3 separate regions of the Homo sapiens genome follow, and regions 1 and 2 are each linked to region 3. Evidence: promoter capture Hi-C in human tissues and cell types (Jung and others, 2019). All regions are on one chromosome and are shown on one strand. Each heading gives the region's core, a stretch centred on a gene start or on the middle of the fragment in contact. The rest is flanking DNA. Distances are from core to core; before and after follow the strand shown.

The links. Contacts are between HindIII fragments. The study calls those that stand out against the background at their distance.
Region 1: a fragment that was not itself captured here is called in contact with the fragment with the promoter of CST5 in region 3 in 2 of the 25 tissues and cell types used here (dorsolateral prefrontal cortex and spleen).
Region 2: a fragment that was not itself captured here is called in contact with the fragment with the promoter of CST5 in region 3 in 2 of the 25 tissues and cell types used here (dorsolateral prefrontal cortex and lymphoblastoid cells).

What each region holds. Positions count from the first base shown.
Region 1 is chr20:24,849,320-24,852,918 of GRCh38, forward strand. No RefSeq gene overlaps it. Among named protein-coding and RNA genes, the nearest start is that of LINC02967, 67 kb to the right of the region's middle. The HindIII fragment of the contact is 4,777 bases long and covers 1-3,599 here.
Region 2 is chr20:24,604,995-24,608,992 of GRCh38, forward strand. All of the region lies in intron 3 of SYNDIG1 (synapse differentiation inducing 1), which reads left to right. Among named protein-coding and RNA genes, the nearest start is that of SYNDIG1, 140 kb to the left of the region's middle. The HindIII fragment of the contact is 4,675 bases long and covers 1-3,998 here.
Region 3 is chr20:23,878,252-23,882,094 of GRCh38, forward strand. CST5 (cystatin D) reads right to left here and starts at 1,497. Exons shown (of 3, transcript NM_001900.5): 1 at 1,195-1,497. The coding sequence starts at 1,425. RefSeq lists an enhancer at 990-1,819. The HindIII fragment of the contact is 5,935 bases long and covers 1-3,413 here.

The DNA of each region.
Region 1 (3,599 bases), core at 985-3,484, 970 kb after region 3:
TGTAGGTTCGGTCTTTTTACATATTCCCATATTTCTCAGAGGTTTTGTTCATTCCTTTTCATTCTTTTTGCTCTAATCTTGTCTGCATGCCTTATTTCAGAGGTCTTCAAACTCTGATATCCTTTCTTCTGTTTGATCAGTTCAGCTACTGATACTTGTGTATGCTTCACAAAGTTCTCATGTTGTGTTTTTCAGCTACATCAGGTCATTTATGTTTCTCTTTACAAGGTTATTCTAGTTACAGCTCCTGTAACCTTTTATCAAGATTCTTAGCTTCTTTGCATTGGGTTAGAACATGCTGGTTGAGCTCAGTGGAGTTAGTTATTACCCACCTTCTGAAGCTTACTTCTGTCAATTCACCCATCTCATTCTACATCCAATTCTGTGCCCTTGCTGGAGAGGTGTTGCAATCATTTGGAAGAGAGGAGGCATTCTGGCATTTGGAATTTTCTGCATTTTTGTGCTGGTTTTTCCTCATCTTTGTGGATTTATCTACTTTTGATCTTTGAGGCTGATGACTTTTTGATGGTGTTTTTTGGGGGGGCGGGGGGGTATTTTTGTTGATGATGTTGTTGTTGCTTTCTGTTAGTTTTTTTTTTTTTTTCTAACAGTCAGGCCCCTCTTCTGCAGGTCTGCTGCAGTTTGCTCCATGCACCAACCTGCTCCATGGGGTATACATGGATTATTTTCCCAGTGCTGACACTGGTGTCCACAATACCACCTGTAAGTCAGCAGAGCAGAGCTCAGTAGGACAAACGTCAGCTCTCCTGCAGGACTGTCTACACCCAGAATAGAAACCACAGCCATTGCCATGCTGGTCCATTGCTCTGGCCAACTGAGCTTGCAGTTGTGCCATTCGCTGACTGGGCTCAGTGCCCCAACGTGCTCTCCCACACAGGAAGCTCTGGATCTTCAAAAATGGCTTGAAGAGAACTGAAAGGTGTTCTTCTGGGATGTCATTCAAGTCAAATGCATCAGCAGCCCAGAAGGCTCTCTTTCCTCACTACAGCCCCCAAGCTAATTACACGAGGTTTTTACAAGATGAACTATTGATTTACTGTCCACTGCCTCAAGCCAGTGTCTTGGAAATGAACACCAGAGCCTGAGAGCAGGAGGACTCATTCTATGAATATGTGCAGGTGAAACCCTGCCTTGCAGCTCATGGAAACTCTAATCTCCTACCGATTTCACGGCATGGAGCATCTCTTCCCCTTGGTTCAAACCCTGCAGGGACAACAGCTCTCCAGGGTATTCCCCAGCACCAAGCCCATGGCCACACCAGGAACTGCTCCAAACAGAGCTTCTTGCCATGGGGCAGGGGACCACAATCCTTCTCCCCCAGGCTAGGGTACCTCTGGTTTCTGCTCAGGGAGCTGCAGGGGAAGTCAGGCTACAGATTCCCCACTCAGAAGCTTCTCATCTGCTTTGTATTCATCTCTTCTAGTCAGTGATGTCTTAGGTGTGCTTAACATTCAGAGCAGAGCAGTTTTTAAAACCCACCTCTTCTATATGATAAAATTATTTTCAGTAATAAGCAACTACAAATTTACAAAAATAAAACCAGTGTAGTATTGGCACAGGTCATCACATATATCAATGGAACAAAATTTTCTGGAAATAGACTATGCATATATGATTAATTGATTTTTTTTTTTGAGACGGAGTTTCGCTCTTGTTGCCCAAGCTGGAGTGCAATGGCGTGATCTTGGCTCACTGCAATTTCCACCTCCTGGGTTCAAGCAATTCTCCTACCTCAGCCTCCTGAGTAACTGGGATTACAGGCATGTGTCACCATGCCTGGCTAAGTATTTGTGTATTTAGTAGAGACAGGGTTTCTCCATGGTGGTCAGGTTGGTCTCAAACTCCCAACCTCAGGTGGCCCCCCTGCCTCAGCCTCCCAAAGTGTTGGGATTACAGGAGTGAGCCACCACACCCAGCAATTAATTGATTTTTACAAATGTGCCAAGGTAATCCAATAGGGAAAAGATAGTCTCTTCAAATGGTGCTGGAACAAGTGAACAATCATATGCATAAAATAACTTCAACCCTTACCTTCCACCATATGCAAAAATTAACTCAAAATGAATCATAAACTAAATGCAGAAGCTGAAACTACAAAACTTCCAGAAGAAAACATGAGGAAAAAAATTTTGTGACATTGGTTTGAAAAGTAAGTTGTTGCTAGAATACCAAAAATGACTCATAAAAGAAGAAAATGATAAACTAGACTTGACGAAAATGAAAACCTTTTGTTTTACAAAGAGACACTATTAAGAAAATCAAAACCCACACACTGAGAGAAAATATTTACTGATTAAGGCCTGCATACCTGATAAAGGAATTGTATCTGAATGTATATAAAGAAATCTCAAAACTCAATAATAAGAAAACAAACAGTCTAACTTAAAAAGATGGGAAAAGATTTGAGGAGACACTCCATTTAGAAGAGCTATGGGTGGTCAGAGGCTCTGCATCACTAGGCAAGAGGGAAATGCAAATGAGCCCTCACCTCACCTCACCTCACACTAAAATGATTAAAATTAAGAGTACAGACAGCGAGCTGGGGGCAGTGGCTTACACCTGTAATCCCAACACTTTGGGAGACTGAGGCAGGATGATTGCTTGAGCGCAGAAGTTCAAGACCAGCCTAGGAAACACAGCAAGACCTCATCTCTAACAAAATTTTAAAAATTTTAAAAAAGTAGCCAGGTATGGTAGCGAATGATTTTAGTCTCAACTACTCAGGAGGCTGAAGTGAGAGGGTAGCTTAAGCCTGAGAGGTTGAGGCTGCAGTGAGCTAGGATTGCACCACAGCATTCCAGCCTGGATGACAAAGAGAGACCCCATATCATATATATATATATATATATATATGGCTATATATGTGGCTATATATTTGTGGCTATATATATATATAGATAGATAATCTAAACAGAAGAATACAGATAATGACAAGTGATGGTGAGGTATGAAGTGAATGGAACTTTCATACTTGGCTGGTGGGAATGTAAGTAGTACCACATTTTGAAAAAGAGTTTGGCAGTTTCTAATAAAGTTAAGTATATGTAATTGCTCAATGGGTTCTTCCAGCCCATTACACAGACAAAATCAATTTGCTGAGACCATGCCATTGCAGTAAATAAAAAGTTTAATTAACACCAGGCCAGCCATGCAGGATAACTCAAGTTATCACTCAATCAGTCTCCTAGAAGGCTCAGAGGTTACGGTTTTTCAAGGACGGTTCGGTGGGCCAGGGTCTAAGGAATGGGTGCTGCTGCCTGGCTGGGGATAAAATCATACGGGTGTGGAAAACAGTTCTTGTGCACTGAGTCCACCTCTTTGGGGGGGGCATGGGACCATTGAGTCACAAGCCTCAAGTCTAGGTAGCATCACTAGTTATCAGAAATGCAGAAGTCTGGGGGAAAAAAATCTCAAAAGGCCAATCTTGGGTTCTACAATAAGAATGTCATCTACAGGAGTAATTGGAGAAGTCACACTTCTTGTGACTTCTGGAACAATGGCTAGTATTGGTTAACTACACCTGCATCTTAGTAGAATTCAGCCCCTCTCAAAATCCTAAGCTTGTGGCCTTTCATTAG
Region 2 (3,998 bases), core at 509-3,008, 730 kb after region 3:
TCAGCCCAAAACCCAAGTTTTCCCTTGAGAGTCACAGGGCATCCAAGGTCATGGGCAGGTAGTTGGGGGGCATCTGGGTAAAGACATGAAACCTGTGCTGGGGTCCAGGAGAAAGTCCTGGCAAAGGGCATCCCAACCAAGCAGGAGTGATGGAGCCACGCAGAAAGAAAATGCTACCCAGGGACAGATGGGTGGGAAGGGTTTGCCGTGGGCCCACATCTACCTCCCTGGGTGAGTGACATGTAAACGAAGGTTGCAATGAGGGCTACAAGAGCCCAGCTAGATACAAGCATAACATTGACTTTGCAGACAAATGCATTGAAAAACATTGCTAGAGGAACGGCTCCAATATTACTACATGGGTTTATTTTAACTTGTATCAGGGAAATGTGTGAGGGCAGTTAAATAGTCAAATGGTATCTCTCCTCTCTCTCTCTCCCTCCCCCAGTCTGTATCTCTGTCTCAATATGCATATTTAATATGCTGATTGTAGCTTCTGAGAGCTGTTTTGCAACTTCTGGATTTAAACAATTCCATATAAATATTAATGATCTGGTGCAGCCAAGACAAATCAGATTTCTTATGTATTTTTTTCCTCTGGAATCCATGCTGCAGTTAGTTACTGATTTTAACTTGTTCTAGTGTATAAATGAACAAATACATCATGTCTGCTTTGCTCCTTGCAGTGGATTGGATAGATTTTTTTTTCCACTGATAGGTGATACATTGTCTTGGTAATTAGCATCTTGATTTTGTGATTATTTGTCTGTAGCAGAGAAAACATGCATGTTGATTGTCCAAGGGCAGAGTCTGCAAAGCCTGTGACGTGTGGGACCCAGAGTTGACATAGCAATGCATTACATTACAAGCTGTGCACTCTTCCCTTTGGACTTAGGGCTCACCTCCAATTACATTTCCAACATGTGATCATTTTTCTTTAAATGATGTACCTGAAGCTTTTAGAATTTAGCATGCCTCCGACAGTAAAGCTGTCCACATGTTTCTTTTGCATCTCTTTTAAGATCGAGGACTTCTGTGCAGGTCCTACAGCACTATGGTTTTGTGTGGTGTCCCTCGGCTTCTGGTCACTATCTGTGGCCATTTCTGTGACTACCAGGCCAGCCTGGCCAGAGGCTGGGATGATCCAACAATGTGCTGGTTGATCACAGAGGCACTGGAGCATCATTGCAAGTGTCTCCAGAACAGGCATGTGGGCAGTCAGTGCTGGCCTCAGATGGCCTCAAGCCAAGTCTCAAAGCTCCACCTGTCAGGGGATGTGGCTATGAGGCTGTGGTTAGTGGGATGTCCCTGCCTCCTGAACAGCTGATGGTCAGGGGACTGACCCCTATTGCCATGAGCGACAACTCATGAACAATTTTCTCTGGGAAACTATTTCACTGAATTCTAATAGATATCTAGCAGATAATTACCCCAGATTTCACTTTGTCCCCAAATCTTAGGTTCTGTTGACCTCATGCTAAATCAAAAGCAGGAATTGCACTTTAAGGTAAAACCTTAGGTTATTATAGAATTGAATATTATATTATTGAGAAAGTTATTATAAAAAGAGAACAAATCTGAATTAGAAATGTCCATCTGGATGCTACTTTGAATAGATTTAGGAAACTTACTGTAGCCCAGTTAATCCTTACGGTATGGGTTTTCTGGAAGTAGAGATCCGGAGTTTAGATTCTGTGCTACAGGTGGGCAGAGCGCAGCACAAGTGCCCATCCCTGGGGTTATGTAGGGGAGCATACAGGATCAGTGGGGGCCAGGCTGCCAAGCAAGAAGATTGGAGTCAGCAGAAGGCTGTGTGCTCCTGTATTCGTCAGAATGATTACCCCTGGATGCTGACTTGGAAAGTGGATGCTGACGAGCAGAAGAAGCAGTGTTTGGAGGATGATTCTGGGATCTTCATTTTGAAGCTGCCCTGGGCAGTTGAGGCAGTACTGTCAATAGGGAGTTTGAAATAAGGAGTTTGCAAGAATCATGTGTTATATGAACGGACCTCTTTCTTTCCACTCATTTGGCCTTTGTTTGCCATTGATGACCTGGTGAAAGTTCTTTTTGAAAACTCCACCTTGGCCGGGCACCATGGCTCATGCCTATAATCCCAGCACTTTGGGAGGCTGAGGCAGTTGGATCACCTGAGGTCAGGAGTTCGAGACCAGCCTGGCCAACATGGCAAAAACCCATCTCTACTAAAAATATAAAAATTAGCTGGGTGTGGTGGCGTGCATCTGTAATCCCAGCTACTAGTGGAGGCTGAAGCAGGAGCATTGCTTGAACCCAGGAGGCGGATGTTGCAATAAGCCAAGATCACACCACTGCACTGCAGCCTGAGCAACAGAGCAAGACTCCGTCTCAAAAAAAAAAAAAAAAAAGAATAAAGAAAAGAAAGAAAACTCCACCTCGTTCGGGCTGATGAGAGTCCCAGTTGGGCACCCTGGTTCTGGCCAAAGGGCCGTCCTCAATGCCTGATTCACCCGGGCTGCTGGGGTGGAGAGTGGGGCTAGGAAGAGCCTCGGCCCATGACGAATGTTCACCCCTCCTGCTGCCTGGCTGTGACTTTTTCTCCTCAAGAGCGAGACATCTCCATGGGCCACATTCACAGTGGAGACGGCCTCGGGCTCCCCCTCTCCCTGCTTCAAGGGCCGAAATTCACAGGCAGCTGTGGGGACAGGGAAGCCCAACTGCTCTCTCACTAGCACACTGGGACTTGAGTTGGCCACAGTTGGAGAACCTTCTATCAATTACTTTCTTCCGTTTTTGTAGACTTTTTAGGTGTACTCCATTTGACGAAAACCTAATGATCTTTTAAAACTCCCAATATTTACAGTGGGTAAGTCAAGGGCAGTTATGTGTATCTCAGATACCCGAAGGTAACGTTAATGCATTAACATAATGTCCTGCAATTTACTTCAAGTATATTTAAAATACAGGTTTATACAGAAATCTATTTTAAACACTTTTCCCGGATGAGATCCTCTTATGAAACAAGATGTCAGAGCACATTCAAAACATCTTCGGCAGCTAAACCCTCTAGTCTCCAGTGCTGAATTTTAGTGTTTCCTTCCAGTTGTATACCTAATAAAAGATATTTTAATTATAAAGATATGATCTATCAATGCTTTCTAGAGTATAAACCCATGACAAATAATACAGAAATTATTTTAAATTTTGGCAATATTATCTCCTATTTTTTTTTTTTGAGACAGTCTCGCTCTGTCACCCAGTCTGGAGTGCAGTAGCGCAATCTCAGCTCACTCCGCCTCCCGGGTTCTAGCGATTCTCCTGCCTCAGCCTCCCAAGTAGCTGGGACTACAGGCACCTGCCATCATGCCCAGCTAATTTTAGTACTTTTAGTAGAGACAGGGTTTCATCATGTTGGCCAGGCTGTTCTCAAACTCCTGACCTCAGGTGATCTGCCCACCTCAGCCTCCCAAAGTGCTGGGATTACAAGCGTGAGTCACCGCGCCCCACCAATAAAATCTTAACAGTGACAATCCATCACCCGCCAACTGACCTGCTTCAAGTGACAGCACCGCAAGGCCCCCGTGTCCAGACCTCTGTACATAGGAACATGAAACCTGTGTACTTAACAAGATGCTTGGGAGGAATACACAGGATATTATGTACGCTGATCTCACGGATGAGACAATAATTAAAAGGTGACTGAAACTACCTTTCCTGTTGGTAAGCAAAAGCTTTCAGCCACAAATAAGGCAACAAGTACCTCTCAGACCGCCCGATGGCCGTCAGTAAGGATGGGGCTGAGAAGTAGTGTAGATGGAGAGAATCATGTGAATGATATTGATAATATAAGCTCAGTTCTCTTGACCAACCCTTGCATTCTAGAATTAAAGCTAAGATTAGATGATGTTCAGAAAAACAGCATACAGTACTGCTTTGTGTGGAGGACAGTAATTTTGTGTGTCTGGACTCACATGTATGTTGGTGCAAGCCAAACCTACAGATTTAAATGAGGGGTGACAAAT
Region 3 (3,843 bases), core at 247-2,746:
CCTCCTGCATGCCTCCATTCCAGGTGTGATTTTCAAGGCAATATTTCTAAAGTGAGTCACACACCTGCATGTCTTAGGGTTGCAACTTCAGAAGAGAACTGAATGCTTTCCCTGCACAGTGCCGCCCCAAAACATGACTTGTCAGAACTGTGGAGAAGCATGGGATGAGGGACCCTGGGACCAGGGTGCTAGACCTTGCCCTGTGGAACCACACACAAGTCCTGTAGAACCACATGGAAGTCCTGTGATCCCTCCGGTGTCAGTCTGCTGCTCTGTAAAATAGGCTCCAGGGCCCAACGATCTACATCATTCTGTGCTTCACTCCCAGTGAGTGACACACTTAAGAGGGAGTGCAGGCCAGCAGGGACCACAGCACCAGGGAATGCCCCTCCTGTGCAGGGAGAGGGCTGCAGGAGGAGAAACAGGGCTGGTCTGGACTCCTCTGACTTTCCAAGAGAAGGTGGAGGAGCTCTAAAGGCTGGCAGGCCATATAGCCCTGTGGTCGCTGTGTCACTGCTGCTCTGCCATGGGACGTAGGTCAAGCTGGGCTCGGTAGCCCTGCTGAAGCTTCCTCCCTCTGGACCCAACCACCTCCTTCACTCTGCTGGGTGATTGCTGTCCTCATTTTGCTGAGGTCTAACTCTGCGTTAGCTGGCAGAGGCAGGGTCAGGCATGCTCTACCCCAGCAGGAACTCAGCTGTCCTGGGCTGTAGGGGGTGGTCAGCCAGCCTGAGAGTGAAGGCCACTAGCCATAACGGGCTGTGCCCAGGGGCGTGACTTGGGAGGGAAGCGGGGCTATCCAGGACAAGGAGTCAGGTTCCCGTGTGGCCCCTGTGGAGAGGACTCAGGGAGGAAGATGAACCTCGTGGCCTGGATCTCATCCTGAGCAGCATCAAGCCCACCCAGAGTCAGCACAGTCTCCATCCACACCTGCTGGACCCTGGGAAATGCCACAGTCATGGTACAGACACAGTGGCTGCTGCAGGTTAAAAGAGGCCGAGGGGACAGGACAGGGCTGAACTCATGCACTCACGGCCAAGGAGTGTCCTAGGGCATGAAGACCATCAGCAGACAGTCAGAGAAAGCTGAATGAGTCTGCGGTTTAGATAATGTTGATTTGCTGGGAGTGCTCTGGGGGGTGAGGCAAAAAACCCAGCTGGGACTCAGGACCCCCAGGGTGGTGGTAGCACGCACCTGCTGGTAGGCAGCCATCACCTGCAGAGGGCGGCTGTAGTACTCATCCTTATTAATGACCTTGTTGTACTCGCTGATGGCAAAGTCCAGGGCACACTGCACACTCTTGTCATTGAGGTCTGTGGCATGGATGCCACCTGCCAAGGTCCTAGATTGGGCCGAGGCACTCCCGGCCACGGCCACCATCAAGGCAGTCAGCAGCAGCAGTGGGGTGTGCATGGGCCACATCATGTTCTACTGGGACACAGAGCAAGGAGCTGGATCTCCCAGAGAGCAAAGCAGCAGAAGGCTGAGGCAGGAAGCCCAGGCCAGAAGCTAGCTGTGCATTTATCCTACTTGGGTGTCCCCCAACCCCACCTGCTCCCTGGCCCCGCCCCTGGCTCCTCCTCCTCTTTCTACCCCTCCTCTTCTGTCTCTATCTCCCTTTCCACCCCCAACCACCTCCCTCCCTCCCTAAGTTCCCTTCGCTCCTCCCATGCCTCCTCCTCATCCTCCTCCCCACTCCTGTCCTGACCGCAACCTCCCCACAGCCCTGCCCCTCTTCCTCAGTGCTCTAAAGCTTGGCTCACTCTGGATTCCAGAGAGGTGACACCGCTCCCTGGGCTGTGAAACCTGGTGACCACCTATGTCCACAGGAAAGGGAGAAATACAGGGCTTGGCCTTCTAAAGTCTTCAGATGTCAGGGGCATCCAGGAGCACGTGGTCATGGTCTGGGAATTCCTGGGGCAGGGAGCTGTTTCAGAAGCTCCGGGATGACCTTGTCCATGCCCTCTTCTGGGGAACTTCTTTGCCAAACATAAAGTAATTAACCTTTGGGTAAAGTTCACTGGGTTCTCGTTTCATAACTCCTCATTATTCAATAAACAAACCTGTCACCAGCTTCCCCCTGCACCAAGCAGTCTGGGCAATAGAGCCGTAGACATGAACTTGCAGAGCTGCCATCCAACAGAGATGTGACAGAAACCCAGGAGCAATTTAAAACACATTTGAAAAAGTTAAAAGATACAGCTGAAAGTAATTTTGGTATTTCTACTTTAACCTAATATATCCAAAATACTTCAACACTTCAGGACTATTCTTAAGGAGCTAGTTTACATTCTTTTGTGTGAGTGTAATGTCTTGAAGTTCCCTGTGTATTTTTTACAGTTAGACCAAGCGTCACTGTGGACTAGCCCCATTTCAAGTGCCCTGTGGCCACGAGTGGCTGCTGGTGGCTGTGGTACTGCATAGCCCAGCCATTAGGGTGTGTGGGAGGATGCAGAGTGGTGATCAACAATTTAGATCAGGGAATTATAGTCGCTCAGTTAGAGAGAGGGTGGGTGCTACTGGACCCTGGTCAGGGAAGTCTCTAAGAGACCGGAAAGGTTGAGAAGCCCCAGGCAGCAGGGAATAGTCAGTGCAAAGGCCCTGAGGCAAGGCTGGGCATGCCTGCTCCAGGAAGAGGAAGCTCCTGGAGGGGGTGTGAGCAGGGAAGGGAACGACCTGGAGTCTCACGGTAACTGTGGGTGTGTCCAGGTGGAAGGCGCAGGGAGACCCCTGGCAGGTGGTGGGGGTGTCAGGAGAAGGAGCAGCAGCCACAGGATGAATGTGGGAGCCCAAGAGCCTCTCTTGCTCCTCCCCTCTGGGAGACGTGCTGCCAGCACTGGTCCTCTGTACACTGCTTGGAAAACTCATGTAATATTTTAAAAATTACATTGAATGAGGTAGAATTTACACACAATAAAATGCCTAATTGTATGTGCCCAATCTGGGGGATTTCATAAATGCATACACTTGTGTTACCACTTTGTCCACACCTGTGATATCTGCCTCACCCCAGATGGTTTCCTCCTGCCTCTGAAGCCCACCCTCATGCCCACCCGACCCTGGCAGCCCACATCTGGTCCTGTGGACTCCTTTGTTGCCTGTCCTTGAGCTTCCCAGGAATGGAATCCTGCAGAGAGAGCCCAGGTGTGTCTTCGTCCTTTGCTCAGCGTGGCTTCATTGCCAGGATTGAGAGTTCTCCTTCTCCACAGACTGAGAGGATGTGGTCAGTTGGGTGCCCTGTGGGCTGACAAAGCCCCCAGCTCGGGATGCTGTGGGCCTGGACTGGAATGTGACTTCAGGAGTAGGGAGGGTGGAAGGAGGCTCTGAACAGACAGCTGCTCCCTTTGTTCTCTCAACCCCCCCTCCATGCCTGAAGGTGATCCTGCGGCAAATGCCCTTATGGCGAGGTGGCAGGCTTGGCCAGAAACACCAGGAAACCCTGGGCCTTAGCAGGACACCCAGAGGACTCTCCTGGGAGTGGTGGAGGTGAGGGTCGGCCAGGATCAGCCCAGACCTGCTATAATCCTGGGGCTCCGCCATGGCTGGGGCTGCATCAGCAGGAACCCGACAGCGGGAACAATATTACTCATGGGTGCTCATGTTCAGTATGAGGACAGGGGACCTTTTTACCCAAGGCCCAGTGACCATTGCACCCCACTGTGAATCCAGCACCCCTAGAAAAGCCATGCACTCCAGCAGATACAGCAGGTGGCCCAGGGATAGTGTTTACTGCTGGGTGAGGGAGGGAAGGTCTTCAAGCAGGGCTGCACGTGATGCCTCCTAGTTAGACAGGAAATTGGGGGAGATTCCCAGAGAAGGGAAAGAGAGGGCAGTCCCTGGCCA